2 separate regions of the Homo sapiens genome follow, and region 2 is linked to region 1. The links are contacts of gene promoters, found by promoter capture Hi-C in human tissues and cell types (Jung and others, 2019). All regions are on one chromosome and are shown on one strand. The core of a region is centred on a gene start or on the middle of the fragment in contact, and the rest is flanking DNA. Distances in the headings are between cores, read along the strand shown. Region 1 holds the start of TMED1 (transmembrane p24 trafficking protein 1). Region 2 holds the start of ZNF653 (zinc finger protein 653).

What was found. Contacts are between HindIII fragments. The study calls those that stand out against the background at their distance.
Region 2: a contact is called between the fragment with the promoter of ZNF653 here and the fragment with the promoter of TMED1 in region 1, in 1 of the 25 tissues and cell types used here (spleen).

What each region holds. Positions count from the first base shown.
Region 1 is chr19:10,834,890-10,839,530 of GRCh38, reverse strand. It overlaps TMED1 (transmembrane p24 trafficking protein 1), which reads left to right and starts at 3,319. Exons shown (of 4, transcript NM_006858.4): 1 at 3,319-3,522; 2 at 4,178-4,275; 3 at 4,414-4,597. The coding sequence starts at 3,340. It also overlaps a transcript of C19orf38 not described here. RefSeq lists enhancers at 3,045-3,144, 2,910-3,546, 4,184-4,641. The HindIII fragment of the contact is 15,983 bases long and covers 1-4,641 here.
Region 2 is chr19:11,503,313-11,507,522 of GRCh38, reverse strand. It overlaps ZNF653 (zinc finger protein 653), which reads left to right and starts at 1,684. Exons shown (of 9, transcript NM_138783.4): 1 at 1,684-2,035. The coding sequence starts at 1,737. ECSIT (ECSIT signaling integrator) reads left to right here. Exons shown (of 8, transcript NM_016581.5): 7 at 1-66; 8 at 1,095-1,594. The coding sequence ends at 1,339. RefSeq lists enhancers at 1-66, 2,519-2,588 and silencers at 1,489-1,538, 1,699-2,368. The HindIII fragment of the contact is 10,042 bases long and covers 1-4,210 here.

The DNA of each region.
Region 1 (4,641 bases), core at 2,070-4,569:
CTAGTTGAGAGGCGGGGGGCAAAGTGTAATGAGGAGTTGATACAGGAGATAGAAAGTATTTAGGCAGGCAGTGAGGGCAAAGAGTCCTCAGCAGAATTTCTTTTCTAACAGAAAGTAGCCCCTGATATCATTTCTTTTCTAATAAATAGCAGCCTGAAAACTCAAGCTGCAAACATAGATAAGGAAGCTGGAAGCTTGCACGTGGGAATGCTGGCAGCTGCACCAACAGAAAATGGCTACCTGGGAGCCAGGCATATCCAACACGGAGGCTCCATCTCCCCTTTTTTGCTACCACGTGTACAGGAACTAAGAAATGGGCAACATGGGGCTGGTCAAGGTGGCTCACACCAGTAATCCCAGCACTTTGGGAGGCCAAGGTGGGCGGATCATGAGGTCAGGAGTTCAAGATCAGCCTGGACAACATGGTGAAATCCTGTCTCTACTAAAAATACAAAAAATTAGTTGGGCGTGGTGGCAGGCACCTGTAATCCCAGCTACTGAGGCGGGAGAATCCCTTGAACCTGGGAGGCGGAGGTTGCGGAGAGCCTAGGTCACGCCACTGCACTCCAGCCTGGGTGACAGGGCAAGACTCTGTCTCAAAAAAAAAAAAGAAAAAAAAAGAAAAAGAAATGGGCGATGTGGCACAGCTCAGGTAGAGACCCCGGCTGCATAATAAAAGATTAGCAGATACCAGAAATTCACACCCTATGCAAATGGCACACCTGTTCTAACCAGTTTTTCATCCCCTATGTAAATCAGGCTAAGTCTCCTCACCAGCTCATCTATAAACCCCCCTGTATTTTGCTATGGACCAGCAACCCATTTTTCTGGGACTCCTCTCTGTAGCAGAGAGCTATACTCTCCGTTGCCTATTAAACGTTCGTTCTCAACCTCATTCTTTTGTGTGTCCTGGTCCTTGTTCTTCGTGGCTGTGAGACAACGACCCCGGGTGTTACTCAAGACAACGAGGCCGTTTCAGAATCACTGCTTAATGGGTACAGGGATCTTTACTGAGCCGATGAAAATGTTTTGGAACTACATAGAAGTCACTGCACAACACTGGAATGTACTAAATGCCACTGAATTGTTAATTTTAAAATGGTTATTTTTATTTTCTTTTTGACACGGAGTCCTGCTCTGTCGCCCAGGCTGGAGTGCAGTGGCATCATCTGGGCTCACTGCAAGCTCCGCTTCCCAGGTTCACACCATTCTCCTGCCTCAGCCTCCAGAGTAGCTGGGACTACAGGCACCCGCCACCACGCCTGGCTAATTTTTTGTATTTTTGGTAGAGACGGGGTTTCACTGTGTTAGCCAGGATAGTCTCGATCTCCTGACCTCATGATCCGCCTGCCTTGGCCTCCAAAAGTGTTGGGATTACAGGTGTAAGCCACCACACCCGGCCTTAAAATTGTTAATTTTATGCAATGTGAATTTTACTGTATTTAAAAAAATCAATTTTAGTAATCCCAACACTTTGGGAGGGTGAGGGAGCAGGCAGATGGCTTGAGCCCAGGAGTTTGAAACCAGCCTGGGCAACACAGGGAAACCTCATGTCTACAAAAAATTAGTTAGGCATGGAGGTGTACACCTGTAGTCCCAGCTACTCAGGAGGCTGAGGTGGGAGAATCACTTGAGCCCAGGAGGTAGAGATTGCAGTGAGCCATGATGGCGTCACTGCACCCCAGCCTGGGCAACAGAGCAAGACCCTGTCCTAAAAAAAATCCGGCCGGGTGCAGTGGCTCACGCCTACAATCCCAGCACTTTGGGAGGCCGAGGTGGATGGAACAGAAGGTCAGGATATCGAGACCATCCTGGCTAACATGGTGAAACCCCCTCTCTACTAAAAATACAAAAAATTAGCCAGGTGTGGTGGCACGTGCCTGTAGTCTCAGCTACTCGGAAGGCTGAGGCAGGAGGATCGCTGGAACCCCAGGAGACGGAGGTTGCAGTGAGTCGAGATCGCGCCACTGCACTCTAGCCTGGGCAACAGAGGGAGACTCTGTCTCAAAAAAAAAAAAAAAAAAAAAGGAAAAAAAAATTAAAAAAAAAAAGAAAAAAAAGAAAAGGAGTCACCCGTTCTCCACTGTTACTTCAAATTGTCCAAGCAGTGAGTGTAAATGATAGAAAAAGTTGGAGTGAAAAGGAATACCAAACTGATATTACAAAGAGCTACTTCCCCAAATTCTCCAAATGCAGGAAAGTGCTGACAACAGCCAGCTGTATTTGAGGGATCTTTGTCATCACCTGCCAACCTTTTCCGGGTTTATCTTTGAAGACTAAACATCTCCCTGTACACAGTTTATGTTTAGACGGGAACCAAATAACAGATTATTATTTACTGAGGGCCTGTGATGTCCCACGCACTGCGGAAGCAAGCACTCAACAAGCATTTCACGTATCCTAAAGACAGCCCAGTAGCGTAGGCCTATTATCCCCATTTTGCAGAAGAGGAAACTGAGGCTCAACAGAGGGAATGCCTCAAGTAATGGGTGGGGCAGGAGCTGAACCAGGCAACGTGGCTCCCAGTCCCACACTGTCCTTATCTCTTCCTACCTGGGCTGTCGTTTTTCTGACCCGAGGCTACTGTAATGGCTCTATTTACCTGCTGGCCCTTGAGTCTGAGACCCTTGGGGTGCATGGTGGGGCCACGCCCCTCCACTGTCTATAAGCCAGGAAAGCTGAGCACTCAATATGAACCAAGCCTCATCTCAATTCTCACAGCCGCACTACAGGGTGGTCGTTCCATCACTCCCGACTTACGAGGAAACTGATACGCTGATGCCTCTAAGGCGCAAAAGGCGTCGAACCTGGACCACGCTCACAGAGCAAGCAAAACACGACGCCACAGGTATCTCCGCCCCGCCCCAGCCCTTTTATAGGCGAGCCCTACGGGTCGCGTACAGGGCCACGCCTAGACGCTATTTTTGGGTCCACTCCACCACGTCGGTCCCGCCAAAGGTTGTCACGCGCGGCGCACTCTGGGAAAACCACGTGGAGGTGACTAAAAAGGACCCTGCCGCCTGTAACTTTAGTTGTCTTAGCTACTGCCTACAAAAGATGCGCCATCATGGCACTTATTTTTGTAATTTTCCTCCACCAGCGGCCGAGAAGAGAGCCGAAGCCTTTGAGAAAAATATTCCCAGACGGTTGAGTGTTTCTGGGCACATCAGGCATTCATTCGGGCCGCCTGCCCTCTAGTGGGGGGGTCCTTCACTCCTGGCACCTCTGGTTACGGACAACATACAGAAGCCACTGCCAATGAGCTCCGCCGAGTAGCACCGGGGCAGGGCTAGCGCTTAAAGGAGCCGCGACCCCTTTGCAGACCAGAGGGTGACCCGGATGATGGCGGCCGGCGCGGCCCTAGCCCTGGCCTTGTGGCTACTAATGCCACCAGTGGAGGTGGGAGGGGCGGGGCCCCCGCCAATCCAGGACGGTGAGTTCACGTTCCTGTTGCCGGCGGGGAGGAAGCAGTGTTTCTACCAGTCCGCGCCGGCCAACGCAAGCCTCGAGACCGAATACCAGGTAGAGGGTCGCGGGCTGGGCGGCCAGCAGAGTCAGGGAGAGGGGGCGTGGCCAAGCGGTCGAGGCGAGGCGCGCTTTAGGAGGAAGGGGGAGGAATCCGTGCTTGGGAGCGCGGGGGCGGAGCTAGAAAGAGATGGACAGATGGGGCGGGGACGGTGTGTGGGAGCGGAAGGGGAGGGAGTAATGAAGCAGGCGGGGCTAGAGTAAGAGATCCAGAGGGGGCGGGGCCATCGATAAGTATAGGGAGCCTCTGAGAGGACAGGACTCTGGCTGGTGGGCGTGGCGATAGTGCTGATAGGTCAACTGCGGGGGCGTTGCCCACACAGGCCTTTCTCGGGGGTTAGACTAAGGAAAAAGGCTGGGCCTATCCTCTTTCGGAGGCGGAGCCAACCAGGGGCGTGGTCAGGTAAACGTCCATTAAGTACTTTTGGTAGGTGCGTGGTCAGCTGAAAGTATGGACCCCAAGCTGTCATATCAATGAGGGTGGAGGCAAGGGGCGCAGCCACTGGGACAGGTTGGGGCGGGTGTGGGTGTGCCGCCGTTCAGGTAAGCCCTTGGTGGTCTGTATTGATCAGTGTTGGTTCAGCCGTAGCCCTCTTCGGCAGGCGCCCTTGGCCTACCGCTAGCCCTCCACCCGCTCTTACCTGCCCCCCAGGTGATCGGAGGTGCTGGACTGGACGTGGACTTCACGCTGGAGAGCCCTCAGGGCGTGCTGTTGGTCAGCGAGTCCCGCAAGGCTGATGGGGTACACACGTGAGTTCAGTCTTGATGCCTGCCTGGGTTCAGTTACAGCCCTGCCCTTCCCAGGCGGCCTCAGGTTACCGCCCTGACTGCCCCGCTGAGTCGGCTGGCTGGCCACCCTGGGTCATGTCTGTGTGTCTGTCTGCCCAGGGTGGAGCCAACGGAGGCCGGGGACTACAAGCTGTGCTTTGACAACTCCTTCAGCACCATCTCCGAGAAGCTGGTGTTCTTTGAACTGATCTTTGACAGCCTCCAGGATGACGAGGAGGTCGAAGGATGGGCAGAGGCTGTGGAGCCCGAGGAGATGCTGGATGTTAAAATGGAGGACATCAAGGTGTGTCCAGGCTGCGCTGGGGCCACTCCTTCCAGATCTCTAGG
Region 2 (4,210 bases), core at 435-2,934, 670 kb before region 1:
CGATGCAGCTGGACCTGGAGTATGTGAGGAGTGGCTGGGACAACTACGAGTTTGACATCAATGAAGGTAAAAACTGGGCCAGGTGCGGTGGCTCACATGTGTGCTCGTAATCCCAGCCCTCCTACAGGCTGAGGTGGGAGGATCACTTGAGCCCAGGAGTTGAGGTTGCAGTGAACTATTATAGAGCCACTGCACTCCAGCCTACATGATAGACCCTGTGTCAAAAAAAAAAAAAAAAAAGGCAAAAACCTGGACAGGCAGGACTTCCAAACATTCCAAACACCACCCAGGATGAGGGGCGGCCTCTGGGGTCAAGGGGTAGGCCCAGGCTGAGACGCAGTCCACTTACACCCTCGTCCTCCGGCCGCACACACTCATTTGCCCCAGGGGCTCCAGACCTGAGGTCACCCAGCCCTGTTGGCCCTTGTTCATTCCCTCCCTCCTACAACTCTGTGCTGGCTACTGGGTGTCACCAGGACAAACCTAGTCCCTCGAGTCAGCAAGGGAACAGGCAAATTACACTTTGGGGAGCTTAGGAGAGGAGCATGCCTTGAGTGGGGGGTCAGGAGGCCTTCCTGGCAGAATACAGAAAAACCAGGAGTCATCGCCCGGGTGAAGTGTGGAGTGGGCAGCCTAGGCAGCGGGGCTAGCTTGTGCAAAGGTTTGGAGGCACAAGAAAGTGGAAGGAAGCCGGGCACAGTGGCTCACGCCTGTAATCCCAGCACTCTGGGAGGCTGAGGCGGGTAGATCATTTGAGGTCAGGAATTCGAGACCAGCCTGGCCAACATGGTGAAACCCCATCTCTACTAAAAATTTAAAAATTAGCCCGGCGTGGTGCTGTGCACCTGTAATCCCAGCTCCTCGGGAGGCCGAGGCAGGAGAATCACTTGAACCTGGGAGGCGGATGTTGCAGTGAGCCGAGATCTCGCCACTGCACTCCAGCCTGGGTGACACAGCGAGACTCCGTCTCAAAAAAAAAAAAAAAAAAAAAAAGGAAGTGGAAGGGAGTGTAAAATACCTCAAAAAGGTGTAGGCATGGGTTAGCCGCTGCAGCCCCCACTGTGCAAACCTTAAGGGTGCATGTCTTCCAACAGTGGAGGAAGGCCCTGTCTTCGCCATGTGCATGGCGGGTGCTCATGACCAGGCGACGATGGCTAAGTGGATCCAGGGCCTGCAGGAGACCAACCCAACCCTGGCCCAGATCCCCGTGGTCTTCCGCCTCGCCGGGTCCACCCGGGAGCTCCAGACATCCTCTGCAGGGCTGGAGGAGCCGCCCCTGCCCGAGGACCACCAGGAAGAAGACGACAACCTGCAGCGACAGCAGCAGGGCCAGAGCTAGTCTGAGCCGGCGCGAGGGCACGGGCTGTGGCCCGAGGAGGCGGTGGACTGAAGGCATGAGATGCCCTTTGAGTGTACAGCAAATCAATGTTTTCCTGCTTGGGGCTCTCTTCCCTCATCTCTAGCAGTATGGCATCCCCTCCCCAGGATCTCGGGCTGCCAGCGATGGGCAGGCGAGACCCCTCCAGAATCTGCAGGCGCCTCTGGTTCTCCGAATTCAAATAAAAAGGGGCGGGAGCGCTGTTGGTTGTGCGCATGCGCAGTTTCCATTCTTGGTCTCCTTTTGGCGCCCTGGGGCAGCGAGAGACCGTGAGAAATTTCTCGGCGGCGCCGAAGATGCGCGCCACTTCCGGTCTGGCTCCTAACAACGGGGGAGGCTGGTAACCAGGGTGGGGGGGATGGCGGAGCGGGCGCTAGAGCCCGAGGCGGAGGCGGAGGCTGAGGCGGGCGCGGGCGGGGAGGCAGCAGCCGAGGAGGGCGCAGCGGGCCGAAAGGCGCGGGGCCGGCCGCGACTCACGGAGTCGGACCGGGCCCGGCGACGGCTCGAGTCCCGGAAGAAGTACGACGTGCGGCGCGTGTACCTGGGCGAGGCGCACGGGCCCTGGGTGGACCTGCGGCGCCGCAGCGGCTGGAGCGACGCCAAGCTCGCCGCCTACCTCATCTCTCTGGAGCGCGGCCAGCGGAGCGGCCGCCACGGGTGAGGGGGCCTGGCCCCGAGGGAGGGAGGGAGGAGACGCCCCCAGACCCCGCCGGGCTTTACCCCGCCCCCTCCGCTTCTAGGGCCAGCCCCCGGCACCTGCGGACCCCGCCCAGGAGCCGGGCCGGCGGCCTGGGTCTCGTACTGCCTGGCCGGGACGCGCCTGGCTCGTGGCCCCGCCTCCCATCGTTCCGACTGCCCAATCCTAGGGTGCACCCAGCCCCTCGACCCGCCTTCTGAGCGCTTGGCCCCGCCCGCTAGAACTCTGGCGGCCCAATCCTGGGACTGGCCCCACCTCCAGGCCTTGTAACTAACCAGGCCCTGGGGGGGCAGCCCCGCCCCCTCACCGGTCTCATCCTCCCCCGCTTAGTTCCCCACCTGGCCTGGGACTCTGGACACCCTGGGGCACTCAGCCCTGCCCTTCTTGAAGTTCTGGTGCCCCATCTGGGACTCCGTATGGCCCCATTCCCACAACCCTAGATCCAACACATCCGGGGGACCCTTCACAACCTGGACTGCACTCCCCTAAACCTATTTCTGTGAAGCAACTCAGCCCAGGGAGACTCGGATGAAGAGGAAACCCCTAGTTAGCTTGGCAGGTGGAGGGCAGAGAGGCCTGTCTTTGTAAATTCTCAGTCTTGAGAAGGAGCAGTGTGGATGGAGTTTTTCCCTTCCTGCCTTATATGTTGATGTGATGATTGAGTTAAAATAGGCAAAGAGCTTAGAAGAGTGCCTGGCAGGTAGTGGGTTCCCTAAGTATTAACTTTTACGAGGATGACGTTTATTCCGTATCACAAGCAGTGCCGCAAGGAAATCCTTGTTCTGCCCTGGTTTTCAGGTACACATGTTCTCATGTTTCTCTGGGGGGAGATTCTGAGAGTCAAGAATCAAACAGATCCTGCTAAGTTATACCCACCCCTTTCCCAGGACAGCAGGCTGGCTTATATGCTCAAGAGCAGGACTGGAAATGCTGGGAGCGCAAAGATACCTGCCTCATGGAGCGGACATTCTGGTGGGCAGAGGGGATGGCTTGTTCAAAGGTCTGGGGGGTTTTTTTGTTCGTTTTTCTTTTCTTTTCTTTTTTTTTGAGACAGAGTCTTGCTCTGTCGCCCAGGCTGGAGTGCAGTGGCACGATCTCCGTTCACTGCAAGCTCCGCCTCCCGGGTTCACGCCATTCTCCTGCCTCAGCCTCCCAAGTAGCTGGGACTGCAGCCGCCCGCCACCACGCCCGGCTAATTTTTTGTATTTTTAGTAGAGACAGGGTTTTACTCTGTTAGCCAGGATGGCCTCGATCTCCTGACCTCGTGATCCACCCGCCTCGGCCTCCCAAAGTGCTGGGATTACAGGCGTGAGCCACCGCGCCCGGCCCTCGTTTTTCTTTTTGAGACAGGGTCTCACTCTCTCGCCCAGAGTGGAATGCAGTGGCATGATCACGGCTTACTGCAGCCTCAACCTCGTGGGTTCAAGTGATCCTCTTACCTCCGCCTCCTGAGTAGTTGGGACCACAGGTGCACGTCACTCCACCTGGCTAATTTTTGTATTTTTTGTAGAGACAGAGGTTTCCCTGTGTTGCCCAGGCTGATTTCAAACTCCTAGGCTCAAGTGATTCTCCGGCCTCAGCCTCTCAAAGTGCTGGGATTACAGGTGTAAGCCATTGTGCCCAGCCCTGTTTGTTTGTTCTTGAGACAGGGTCTCACTTTGTCACCCAGGCCAGAGTACAGTGGCATGTTCATAGCTCACAGCAGCCTCAACCTCCCAGGCTCAAGGGATCCTCCTGCCTCAGTCTCCCAAGTAGCTGGGACTACAGAGGAGCCACCTCACCTGGCTAATTTTTTAATTTTTCATGGAGATGGGGGTCTCGCCATGTTGCCCAGGCTGGTCACGAACTCCTCGGCTCAAGGGATCCTCCGTCCTCAGCCTCCCGAAGTGCTGGGATTAAAGTCATGAGCCACCATACCTGGCAAAAGGCTTGTTTACTGCAGACCAGAAACATAAGTAAATTGTATCGTCCATGAGAGATAGGGGCTACGGAAAAAACAAAAGTGAAATGAAGAGTGTGAGTTGGAAGTTTAAATAGGGAGTTAAGGTGGTCACATTCAGAAGATAGCATTTCAGTAAAGACATGAAGGAACCTAGGAGGAGCCATGCAGATCTCTGGGGAAGAGTTGAGGCAGA